Regions from separate parts of the Homo sapiens genome. Here all the other regions are linked to region 3. The links are contacts of gene promoters, found by promoter capture Hi-C in human tissues and cell types (Jung and others, 2019). All regions are on one chromosome and are shown on one strand. The core of a region is centred on a gene start or on the middle of the fragment in contact, and the rest is flanking DNA. Distances in the headings are between cores, read along the strand shown. Region 1 holds the start of ARRDC2 (arrestin domain containing 2). Region 2 holds the start of INSL3 (insulin like 3). Region 3 overlaps ABHD8 (abhydrolase domain containing 8).

The links. The method cuts DNA at HindIII sites, captures the fragments that hold promoters and counts their contacts. A contact is called where the count stands out against the background at its distance.
Region 1: the fragment with the promoter of ARRDC2 here is called in contact with a fragment that was not itself captured in region 3 in 1 of the 25 tissues and cell types used here (dorsolateral prefrontal cortex).
Region 2: the fragment with the promoter of INSL3 here is called in contact with a fragment that was not itself captured in region 3 in 1 of the 25 tissues and cell types used here (spleen).

The regions. Positions count from the first base shown.
Region 1 is chr19:18,005,480-18,009,613 of GRCh38, forward strand. ARRDC2 (arrestin domain containing 2) reads left to right here and starts at 2,691. Exons shown (of 8, transcript NM_015683.2): 1 at 2,691-3,105; 2 at 3,232-3,298; 3 at 3,492-3,639; 4 at 4,113-4,134. The coding sequence starts at 2,832. RefSeq lists an enhancer at 2,745-2,964. The HindIII fragment of the contact is 21,109 bases long and covers 1-3,876 here.
Region 2 is chr19:17,820,269-17,823,751 of GRCh38, forward strand. INSL3 (insulin like 3) reads right to left here and starts at 1,251. Exons shown (of 2, transcript NM_005543.4): 1 at 1,049-1,251. The coding sequence starts at 1,238. The HindIII fragment of the contact is 21,957 bases long and covers 1-3,483 here.
Region 3 is chr19:17,298,320-17,302,846 of GRCh38, forward strand. ABHD8 (abhydrolase domain containing 8) reads right to left here. Exons shown (of 5, transcript NM_024527.5): 2 at 2,537-3,305. The coding sequence starts at 3,297. It also overlaps a transcript of MRPL34 not described here. Among named protein-coding and RNA genes, the nearest start is that of ABHD8, 2.8 kb to the right of the region's middle. RefSeq lists enhancers at 2,642-3,142, 3,143-3,643 and a silencer at 4,001-4,295. The HindIII fragment of the contact is 7,858 bases long and covers 1-4,527 here.

The DNA of each region.
Region 1 (4,134 bases), core at 1,441-3,940, 710 kb after region 3:
TGGCCCGTTCTCAATGAGCTGTTGGGTACACCTCCCAGACGGGGTGGTGGCCGGGCAGAGGGGCTCCTCACTTCCCAGTAGGGGCGGCCGGGCAGAGGTGCCCCCTCACCTCCCGGACGGGGCGGCTGGCCGGGTGGGGGGCTGACCCCCCGACCTCCCTCCCGGACGGGGCGGCTGGCCGGGCAGGGGGCTGACCCCCCCACCTCCCTCCCGGATGGGGCGGCTGGCTGGGTGGGGGGCTGACCCCCCGCCTCCCTCCCAGACGGGGCGACTGGCTTGGCGGGGGCTGACCCCCCACCTCCCTCCTGGACGGGGTGGCTGCCGGGCGGAGAAGCTCCTCACTTCCCAGACGGGGTGGCAGCCGGGCGGAGGGGCTCCTCACTTCTCAGACGGGGCGGCTGCCGGGCGGAGGGGCTCCTCACTTCTCAGACGGGGCGGCCGGGCAGAGACGCTCCTCACCTCCCAGACGGGGTCGCGGCCGGGCCGAGGCTCTCCTCACATCCCAGACGGGGCGGCGGGGCAGAGGCGCTCCCCACATCTCAGACGATGGGCGGCCGGGCAGAGACGCTCCTCACTTCGTAGATGGGATGGCGGCCGGGAAGAGGCGCTCCTCACTTCCTAGGTGGGATGGCGGCCGGGCAGAGACGCTCCTCACTTTCCAGACTGGGCAGCCAGGCAGAGGGGCTCCTCACATCCCAGACGATGGGCGGTCAGGCAGAGACGCTCCTCACTTCCCAGACGGGGTGGCGGCCGGGCAGAGGCTGCAATCTCGGCACTTTGGGAGGCCAAGGCAGGCGGCTGGGAGGTGGAGGTTGTAGCGAGCCGAGATCACGCCACTGCACTCCAGCCTGGGCACCATTGAGCACTGAGTTAACGAGACTCTGTCTGCAATCCCGGCACCTCGGGAGGCTGAGGCTGGTGGATCACTCGAGGTTAGGAGCTGGAGACCAGCCGGGCCAACACAGCGAAACCCCTTCTCCACCAAAAAAACCAGTCAGGCGTGGCGGCGCGCGCCTGCAATCGCAGGCACTCGGCAGGCTGAGACAGGAGAATCAGGCAGGGAGGTTGCAGTGAGCCGAGATGGCAGCAGCACAGTCCAGCTTCTGCTCGGCATGAGAGGGAGACCGTGGAAAGAGAGGGAGAGGGAGACCAAGGGGAGAGGGAGAGGGAGAGGGAGCTTAAAAATTGTTAAATTGTTATACATTTAAGGAAAAAACAGTGACACTGGAGGGGCGAGGCCAGTGGAGGTGCTGTGTGACCTCGGGCAGAGCCCCACCCATCTCTGGGCCTTTGGGGTCCGTCTGCGAAATGAATTGAGGGAGGCGCTGGCTCAGTAGTCCCTTCAGGGTTACCTAATCCCGCTTCTCCTCCCGGACTTAACGGCCTACTGTCTCCCCTCTAGTATCCATTGAAACCTGGCCTAAGGTCCCAGACCTTCCTTTCAACTCCAAAGACCCATCCTCCCAGGCAGCCTTCCAGGCTGATCACTGTGCCTCCAACTCCGTCGTTCCTGTTCCGATCCCCATCACGGGCTGAGGGTGACCGTGTTTGTTTATGACCGCCCCCTCCACCCACACACCTCACTGAGGTGGTGGAAGTCTCCTGAGCCAGGCTCAGAGGCGGACAGTCACGGCAGGGGATGGGTTCAGCGGCAGCGCATTACGCTGCCACGAGAGGGCGCCAGCGTCCCGCAGACGACGCAGAGGCAACTCCCGCTGGAGAAACTCCATGCGACTTTTCTTTGGGGAAACTGAAGCCCAGAGAGAGGTCACGCCGTCCCGTGGCCACACCGCAGCTGTGGACCTGGGGGTGCCCGAGCGTCCCCTGCATTCAGCTCTGTGGCGGGACGGGGGCTGAGGATGACTGGAGCAGGCACAAGGGCTGCGGGGAAGGTAGGGTTTGCCAGAGGCTGAAAATTGGGAAGGGAACATCATTTCGTAGGTACCGCTCCTGGGCGAATGCGCCGAGGCGCGACCGAGTGACGGTATGTCAAGAGCAGGTTGATGACCCGGGAGCGAGGCTCTTGGAGGAGTCCAGCTGGGGCTGCACGATGATCCATGCACAACCTTCTGAGGTCAGGACTGATTTTTACTTTCTCCCGGCTCTACAGAGGTGGAAACTGAGGCTCCAAGAGGTTGTCATTTGCCCAGAGCCACCAGCTAAGCGGGACTTGAATCAGGAAAGGGGTGCAGCAGGCACCAGTGTGGAGGGCGGTCCCACCCACCTCCTCCACTTCTCCCTTTGCATAGCGGGGGAAACAGGCCTGGAACAGTCATAGGCTCTCTGGCCCTCAACTGGGGCGAGAGTCCCCCGCCCCAAATCGGGCTGGACATGCCTCGAGTCACGTCAACGAGGGGCGGCTGGTGAGTGATTAAGCCGAGAGGCTGAAGGCTCTGCTAGGTGACCTCAGGCCTGGGCCCTGCCTCTGCACCTCTTTTTTTCCTCTTTACCCCCGGGGTCCGCGAGAGACCAGCTCTGGCAGCCTAAGGGCTTCAGTTTCTCCCCGGGGTCCGCGAGGGAAGGGGGCAGCCGGCGGTGAGCAGGGGCGTTTGTTATTTTGCTCCACGCCTGGGCAGAGCCACGCCCCTTGTCGCGCTATTGGTGGAGTCCCTTCCCGGGGCGGGGAAGAGACGGTGACCCCACCCCCCCCCGCCCTGCCGTATAAAAGCGGCGCCGACGCACGGCGCGGGGATTTTCTGCTCCGGTTGGTGAGCGCGCCTGCGCGTTGACGGCGATTTTGCGTTCTGAGGCTGCAGCGTCGGCATCTTGAGCTGCCGGTTCGCGAGTTCGAGGCCAGGTTCCGCCTGTCGTGGGTTCGCACCCCGGACGCGATGCTATTCGACAAGGTGAAAGCGTTCTCGGTGCAGTTGGACGGCGCGACCGCGGGCGTCGAGCCCGTGTTTAGCGGCGGCCAGGCCGTGGCGGGCCGGGTGCTGCTGGAGCTGTCAAGCGCCGCGCGTGTGGGTGCCCTGAGGCTGCGCGCGCGGGGCCGCGCCCACGTGCACTGGACCGAGTCGCGCAGCGCGGGCTCGAGCACGGCTTACACGCAGAGCTACAGTGAACGCGTGGAGGTCGTGAGCCACCGCGCCACGCTCCTGGCGCCAGGTACGGATGGAGGACCCCTGCTCCAACACCAGTTGTGTGCCTCCCACCACCTGGACGGCGGTACCTCCGTCAGCCCTGGGACCCCAGCGCAACCGCTCAGTCGCCTCCTTTTTCTCCTACCTGCAGATACCGGGGAGACCACGACGCTGCCTCCTGGGCGCCATGAGTTCCTGTTCAGCTTCCAGCTGCCCCCGTAAGTCCTCTGGGGTGCAGGGTTGCCCTAAGCCTGCAGCCCCTTCCAGATTGGTACCTCCAATACTGGATATCTGGGCACCTCTGAGCCCCAAGACTCTCCCCCTGGGAGGCCCCCGGAGTGTCTGTGTCTCCTTCTCCCTGCCTGCTTGTCTCTGTATCTTGTCCCCTGAAGTCCCGTCCCTCCACCCTAGGACCCTGGTGACATCCTTCGAGGGCAAACACGGTAGTGTCCGCTACTGTATCAAGGCCACCCTGCACCGGCCCTGGGTCCCAGCACGCCGGGCAAGGAAGGTGTTCACTGTCATCGAGCCTGTGGACATCAACACGCCAGCCCTGCTGGTGAGTGGCCACCCTTGGGGAGGTAGGTTGGGAGTATTGTAGGAAGGGGCCTGCCTGGCTGCTGGGCGACACCAACCAATAAGATGGAGGTCATAGGTGGGCCCTGGCAGGGAGGGAGGCAGGTGTGGGAATGCGTGTGGAATCCACTGGGATCTGCACCCATTTGCCGTGTGACTCTGGGCAAGTGTCTTGAAGCCCTCTCTGAGCCTCAGATGCCTCTTCTGTGAAATAGACCAGAGCTAGGGCTTACCAAGTGTGAATTACACACCAAACACTTGGCTTATACATTTCATTTCTGGCTTTATAAGATGGGTTGTGTTCCTGGCTCTATTTAACGGATAGTTCCTGGATTGTTAAAAAGAAACCAAGCCCTGCCCAAAGTCCTCCCTCAGCTGGGGGTGGTTTGGAAGCTCCACAGCGACTGTGGTTTGCACAAAGTGACTCATCCATGTCACTTTCCTCTACACCGACAGGCACCTCAAGCGGGGGCTCGGG
Region 2 (3,483 bases), core at 1-2,500, 520 kb after region 3:
GCGAGGCTATGTCTCAAAATAAATAAATAAAAATAAAATAATAAAATAAAGTAACATAATTGTGAAAAGCAATACTTTTCAAAAGCAATACTTTTAAATACTTTTAAAGCTGGACACAGTGACTCACATCGCTAATCCCAACACTTTGGAAGGTCAAGGTGGGAGGATTACTTGAGCTCAGGAGTTTGAGACCAGCCTGGGAAACAGAGTGAGACTCCCTCTCTACGAAAAAGAAAAAAAAATTAGCTGGGTGTGGTGGCAGCACCTGTATCCCAGCCACTCCAGAGGCTGAGGCAGGAGGATGGTTTGAGCCCAGGAGGTTGAGCCTGCAGTGAGCCGAGATCTCACCACTGCACTCCAGCCTGGGCGTCAGAGTGAGACCCTGTCTCAAAAAACAAACAAACAAAGCAAAATTAAGGCAAAAATTCATGAAGATCAAAATATTGAAATTTTAAGACAGGATCTCACCATGTACTTGCAAGAGCCTACCTCTCCTGCCTCACTCTGTTTCTGGCCCCTCAGGGGGACTCATGCTCTGAGGACTTTCTTTTTTTTTTTTTTTTGAGACGGAGTTTCACTCTGTCGCCCAGGCTGGAGTGCAATGGCATGATATCGGCCCACTGCAACCTCTGCCTTCCGGGTTCAAGCGATTCTCCTGCCTTGGCCTCCCAAGTAGCTGGGATTACAGATGTGCATCATTATCCCCGGCTAATTTTTTTAAAAATTATTTTTAGTAGAGATGGGGTTTCACCATTTTGGCCAGGCTGGTCTCGAACTCCTGACCTCTGGGGATCCACCCGCCTCAGCCTCCCAAAGTGCTGGGATTGCAGGCGTGAGCCACCACGCCTGGCTAACGGCTCTGGGGACTTTCACACGCGCGTTCACACACACTCCAGTGCGGACCCACGATCTGTGCACGCAGCCGGCAGGTGAGCCCTGGGCACATGCATGCAAACCTGCCCACCTCCCTGCACGTGTGCATCTGCGCCTACGTGCACCTGCCCCACCTCGGCTTCCCAGAGCGCTGTCCCTGCCCGTCCCCACTCACGGTCGCCTCCGGTCGCAGGCCTCCTGGCTTCGGTGGACCAGCGGGGGCCCCCGCACACGCGCACTAGCGCGCGTACGAAGTGGTGGCCGCACAACTTCTCACGCATCTCTGGGGTGGGCGCGGGGCCCAACGCGAACACCAGGGCAGGGCCCAGCAGCACCAGCGCCCAGGCGGGCAGACGGGGGTCCATGGTGGTGGGTGGCGCCGGGGCCAAGCGGGGACCCCCTTTATAGGCGCCTGGGCCGTCCCAGCTGGGGGCCTTGGAGAAGGGACAGAACATTCTTCAGGACCGCCCAGGAAAAAGGTCAAGGGTGGGGTTAGTGCCAGAGCCTTTCTCCCAGGGCCAGGGCCTTGGATGTACTTCTCCCAGAGGGAGCACTGGGCAACGAGTCTTTCTTTTTTATTTTTTTCTTCTTTTTTTTTGAGATGGAGTCTCACTCTGTCACCCAGGTTGGAGTGCAGTGACTTGATCTCGGCTCACTGCAACTTCTGACACCCGGGTTCAAGCGATTCTCCTGCCTCAGCCTCCTGAGTAGCTGGGATTACAGGTGCGCACCACTATGCCTGGCTAATTTTTTTTTTTTTATTTTTTATTTTTAGTAGAGACTGGGGTTCGCCATGTTGGCCAGGCTGGTCTCCAACTCCTGACCTCAAGCGATCCATCTGCCTCGGCCTCCCAAAATGCTGGGATTACAGGCATGAGCTGTGCCTGGACTATTATTATTTTTATTATTATTATTGAGACAAAGTCTTGCTCTGTCTTCCAGGCTGGAGTGCAGTGATGCGATCTCGGCTCACTGCAACCTCCACCTCCTGGGTTCAAGTGATTCTCCCACCTCAGCCTCCCAAGTAGCTGGGATTACAGGTGTAAGCCACCACGCCCAGCCACCTATTTTTATTTTTTATTTTTGAGATGAGTTCTTGCTCTGTTACCCTGGCTGGAGTGCAGTGGCACGATATGGGCTCACTGCCACCTCCCTATCCCTGACTCAAGCAATTCTCCCACCTCAGCCTCCTGAGTAGCTGGGACTACAGGCCCACGCCACCACACCCGGCTAATTTTTTGTATTTTTTTTGTAGAGATGGGGTTTTGCCATGTTGCCCAGGCTGGTCTCAAACTCCTGGACTCAAGTCATCTTCCCGCCTCAGCCTCCCAAAGTCCTGGGATCACAGGCGAGAGCGACCACACCAGGGTATTTATTCATTTTTGACATAGGATCTCTCTGGGTTGGCCTGTAATGGCAGGATCATAGCTCACTGTAACCTCATTCCCCTGGGCTCAAGCGATCCTTCAGCCTCTGCCTCCTGAGTAGCTGGGACTACAGGCCTGCAATACAATGCCCAGCTAATTTTTAATTTTTTAATTTTTATTTTTATCTTTTTAGACAGAGTCTTACTCTGTCACCCAGGCTGGAGTACAGTGGTGCGATCTCGACTCACTGCAACCTTTGCTTCCTGGGTTCAAGCGATTCTCCTGCCTCAGCCTCCTGAGTAGCTGGGATTACAGGTGCCCACCACCAAGCCTGGCTAATTTTTGTATTTTTTAGCAGAGACGGGGTTTCACCATGTTGGCCAGGCTGATCTCAAACTCCTGACCTCAAGTGATCCACCCGCCTCGGCCTCCCAAAGTGCTGGGATTACAGGCGTGCACCAACGCGCCCGGCCATTTTTAATTTTTTAATTGTAGAGGCAGGGGTCTTGCTATGTTGCCCAGGCTCATCTAGAACTCAAGTGGTTCTCCCTACTCGGCCTTCCAAAATGCTGGGATTACAGGTGTGAGGCACCACACACGGCCAAGTCTTCGCTATTGTCTTAACCAGTTTAAAGAGATGAAATAGATCAACTGAAAAGTAATAATCCTGCCTTTTCTGGGGGGCAGGGGGGAAGACAGCGGGCATCTTCCAAGACCAGAAATGTTCAGAATTTTGTTGTTTCTATTACTGTACAAATGAGAAAACTGAGGCACACAGGCCAGGTGCAGTGGCTCATGCCTGTAATGCAAGCACTTTGGGAAGATGGGGCAGGTGGATCACTTGAGGTCAAGAGTTCGAGACCAGCCTGCCCAATATGGTGAAACTCTGTCTCTACTAAAAATACAAAAATTAGCCAGATGTGGTGGTGCATGCCTATAATCCCAGCTACTCGGGAGGCTGAGGCAGGAGAATCACTTGAACCCAGGAGGTGGAGATTGCAGTGAGCCGAGATGGTGCCGCTGCACACCAGCCTGGGGACAGAGACTCCGTCCCCTCACCAGACAAAAAGAAAGAAAAGAAAAGAAAAAAAGAAAACTGAGGCACAGAGAAAGGACCCCAAACTTGCCCAAGGTCACAGGAGGCTGAGCAGAGCCCAGGTCTTCTCAAGGCGCCTGACACGCAGGGCTGGGGGTGTCCCATCCGAAGCTCTGTCTCCCCAACACGGTTGTCCCCTCTGGGTGA
Region 3 (4,527 bases), core at 1,220-3,719:
GAGGCCACTTGGTAGTGGTCAAGCCCTGGGGACCAAGCCTTCCATGGAGGGGTTCTTGGTAAGTTTTAGGTTGTATTACCTGCCCTTTAAGCAGGAGTGAATTACAGTAACCCATGCCTTTGTAAATGCCTAGAATTTACAGGATTCCGATGAGCGCTTCCTGAATGCACAGTGTTCTCCAGGGCAGTTGATTTTTTAACTTAGTCTAAGGCAGTGGTTCTCAGCTGGGGGTAATTCTGCCCACCAGGGCACGCTTGGCAACTACTGAAGACATTTTTGACTGTCATGATCAACACTAGATTGTGTAGTTGCATCCAGTGGGCAGAAGCCAGGGATGCTACTAAACATCCTATAGCCCCTCACAGAAAAAAAATAACCTGGCCAAACACGATAGTGCTGGGATTGAACAACACTGCTTTTTTTTTTTTTTTTTTTTTTTTGGGCAGAGTCTCACTCTGTTGCTCAGGCTGGAGTGCAGTGGTGTGATCTTGGCTCACTGCAACCTCTGCCTCCCAGGTTCAAGTGATTCTCCTGCCTCACACCCCCGAGTAGCTGGGATTACAGGCACACACCATCATGCCTGGTTAATTTTTTGTACTTTTAGTAGAGATGGGGTTTCACCATGTTGGCCAAACTGGTGTTGAACTCCTGACCTCAAGTGATCTGCCTGCTTTGGCTTCCTAAAGTGCTAGGATTACAGGCGTAAGCCACTGCACCTGGCCTGAGCAACACTGCTTTAGAACAATGTGAAACAATATCAGTGATGACGGAAATCCCTGTCTGATTACATATGCTAATGGGAGTTTTCAGCCTGGTATAGCGGCTCATGCCTGTTACCCCACCACATCGGGAGGCCAAGGAGGGAGGATGGCTTGAGCCCAGGAGTTCAAGACCAGCCTGGGCAACATAATGAGACCCCCCCCCCATTCTCTATATAATTTTTTTTTGAACTTGAAAATTGGCCTGGTGCGTTGGCTCACGCCTGTAATCCCAGCGCTTTGGGAGGCCGAGGAGGGCGAATCACGAGGTCAGGAGATCGAGACCATCCTGGCTAACACGGTGAAACCCCGTCTGTACTAAAAAGACAAAAAATTAGCCAGGCATGGTAGCGGGTGCCTGTAGTCCCAGCTACTAGGGAGGCTGAGGCAGGAGAATGGCATGAACCTGGGAGGTGGAGCTTGCAGTGAGCCAGGATCACGCCACTGCACTCCAGCCTGGGGGACAGAGTGAGACTCCATCTCAAAAAAAAAAAAAAAAAAAAAAATTAAGGCTGAGCACAATGACTCACACCTGTAGTCCTAGCACTTTGGGAGGCTGAGGTGCAAGGATCACTTGAGCCCAGTAGTTAAAGAACATCTTGGGCAACATAGTGAGATGCCATCTCTATTTAAAAGAAAAAAAAATTTTAAAAATGTAAAAATTAAATTGAAAAATGGGATTTTTTTCAAGGAGAAAAATTAGGATTTTTGTTTGCTTTGTTTTGTTTTAGGAGATAAGGTTTTGCCATGTTGTCCAAACTCATCTCCAATGATCCATCCACAAAGTGCTGGGATTACAAATGTGCACCACCGCGCGTGGTGGCCCCTTTTTTTTTTTTCATGACGGAGTCTCCTTCTGTCGCCCAGGCTGGAGTGCAGTGGCACAATATGATCTTGGCTCACTGCAAGCTCCGTCTCCCGTGCTCATGCCATTCTCCTGCCTCAGCCTCCCGAGTAGCTGGGACTATAGGTGCCCACCACCACACCCAGCTAATTTTTTGTATTTTTAGTAGAGACAGGGTTTCACCGTGTTAGCCAGGATGGTCTCAATCTTCTGACCTCGTGATCCGCCCGCCTCAGCCTCCCAAAGTGCTGGGATTACAGGCGTGAGCCACCGCGCCCGGATTTTTTTTTCTTTTTTAAAGAGCGACAGGTTCTTGCCATGCTGCCCAGGCTGGAGTGCAGTGGTGTGATCACAGTTCACTGCAGCCTCGACCTCCCAGACTCAAGCAATCTCCTGCCTCAGCCCTTAAGTAGGTGGAACTATATGCGTGCACCTCCTCACCTAGCTAATGTTTGTACTTTTTGTAGAGCTAGGGGGTTCTCCCTATGTTGCCCAGGCTGGTCTCAAACTCCTTGCCTCAAGATATCCTCCCGCCTTGGCCCCCGAAAGCACTGGGATTACAGGTGTCAGTGGCATCTCAGAGTCTCCCTCTGTCGCCCAGGCTGGAGTGCAGTGACACAATCTCGGCTCACTGCAACCTCCACCTCCTCGGTTCAAGTGATTCCTCTGCCTCAGCCTCCCGAGTAGCTGGGACTACAGGCGCGTGCCACCACGTCTGGCTAATTTTTGTATTTTTGGTAGAGACGGGGTTTCACCACCTTGGCCAGACTGTTCCCGAACTCCCAACCTCAGGTGATCCGCCTGCCTCGGCCTCCCAAAGTGCTGGGATTACAGGCGTGAGCCACGGGGCTCAGCCAAAAACTCAGTATTTTGTGACTGTAGTCCCTGCTGACCCCATCCCTCACCCCCACCCCACATGCCAGGGTTCACTTACCCGTAGGAATGGCCAATGAGCACATTTCGCTTCTTGGCATAGCGCTTGAAGATTGCTCGCATGTCCTCAGCCAGCGCATAGAAGGTGTAGGCTGCGGCCACCTGGGGCGCAGAGCTGGCCCCGTGGCCGGCCAGGTCAGGAGCCACCACCTCATAGCCTAGGCGCACAAAGAAGTCCAGCTGCTCCTTCCAGATGGCCAGGGAACCGCCGACACCATGGATGAAAAAGAGCACCACGTCGGCCTGGGCGCCTTTGCAGCTAGTGATGCGCTTCTCACAGTCAATATGGATGGTCCTCTTGGGGCGCCTGGCTCGCCGCCGCCGCCCACCACTGCCACTGCCGCTGCCGCTGCCTGCGCTGCCGGGGGCCAAGCGGCCATCGCTGCCCGCCGGATCTGCCAGCTCCACCTCCAGGGCGGCCGGCGGCTCCCCAGAGCCATTCTGCCCGTGTAGGAGGTCGGCTCGAGGGGCTCGGCCCAGGTTTTCCACCAGCAACCGCCCATTGCGGTACACGGTGATCCGGCGCTGACAGCGGACCAAGCCGGAGAGGTCCCCCTGGGCTGCATCCGAGGATGCGGATGATGGTGGAGGTGGGGCAGCGGCTGGGGCGGGTCCTGCATGCTTCACCCGCAGCACGCGGCCGGGCTTGACCTCTACAAAGGTGTAGCCATCGCTGGACTCGACGCTCTCCAGTGGCCCCACGGCGTTGGGGGGCGTGCCCAGCAGGCAACAGAAGATACCGTCGGTCACCCCGGTCAGCATGGTGTGTCCTGTGAGTGAGGACAGCAGCCAGTTCAGGTGCTGTCTCAATGAGAACCCTGCACCGTGCAGCAGGCACTCCCTGAGCCTTGGGAGAACTGTTTTAGACTCCAGTTTGGGGAGCGCCAGATCAAGTGAGCCACGGCACTGAGATTTTTTTGTTTGTGTGTGTGTGTGTGTGTGTGTGTGTGTGTGTTTTTGAGACAGTCTCGCTTTGTCATCCAGGCTGGAGGGCAGTGGCCGGATTTCGGCTTACTGCAACCTCCCCCTCCTGGGTTCAAGCGATTCTCTTGCCTCAGCCTCCTGAGTAGCTGGGATTATAGGCAGGTGCCACCATGTCTAGCTAATTTTTGTATTTTTTGTAGAGATGGGGTTTCACCATGTTGGCCAGGCTGGTCTTGAACTCCTGACCTCAAATTTTCCTCCTGCTTCGGCCTCCCAAAGTGCTGGGATTATAGGTGTGAGCCACCGTGCACTGACATGTTTTGTCTGAGCAGTGCCTTTGTGGTAGTTACCCTCCTGGGTCACCCTAGTCTATCCTCAGAGAGAAAGACTTGGCTATGGCTTACCCCACAGGGTGTCCACAGGGAAGGTGGTGGCGTCTTGTGTGGGGATGTTCCTGGAGAAGGGGACATTGTGGCAAATGTGGACCAGCCGGAAGACACCCCCTCCCCCCAGCTGGAGTTTATACCATTTATGGCCTCCTAACTCATTCATTCAGGTATACACTAACTCATCCATTCAGGTATACACTAACTCATTCATTCAGGTATACACTAACTCACTAACTCATCCAGGTATGCACTCACTAACTCACATATCCCCAGGGCCTCCTAAGGCATCTAAAATATGCAAATCTTTGGTGAGCCCCCAGTGAGGCTCCTGGCTCTGAATTTGACTCCTGAAAGGTGAGGCCCTAGGAGAGGGGGATGGGGACTGAGCCACAGAAAGCCTTGCTCAGCTCCCCTAGACCGGGGTGAGCCGGGGTCTGTTTCATAGAGGGCCAAGCTGAGGCCCAGACACTCTGAGAGGAAGCTAGACTCTGAACTTCCTCCTTGGCACCCTGGATTCTGGGGATCTGCTATACAAGTCCCCAGAGGTGGCGAAGAGGATGGGAGAGGCAGGGCCCTGGCTGGGGGCCTCCAAGCCTCCATCCCACTCCTTGGGCCACCCCCGCCCCCGTGTCCATGGCAACCACAGGCGGTTACATAACCTAAGGGGGGGATACCCGAG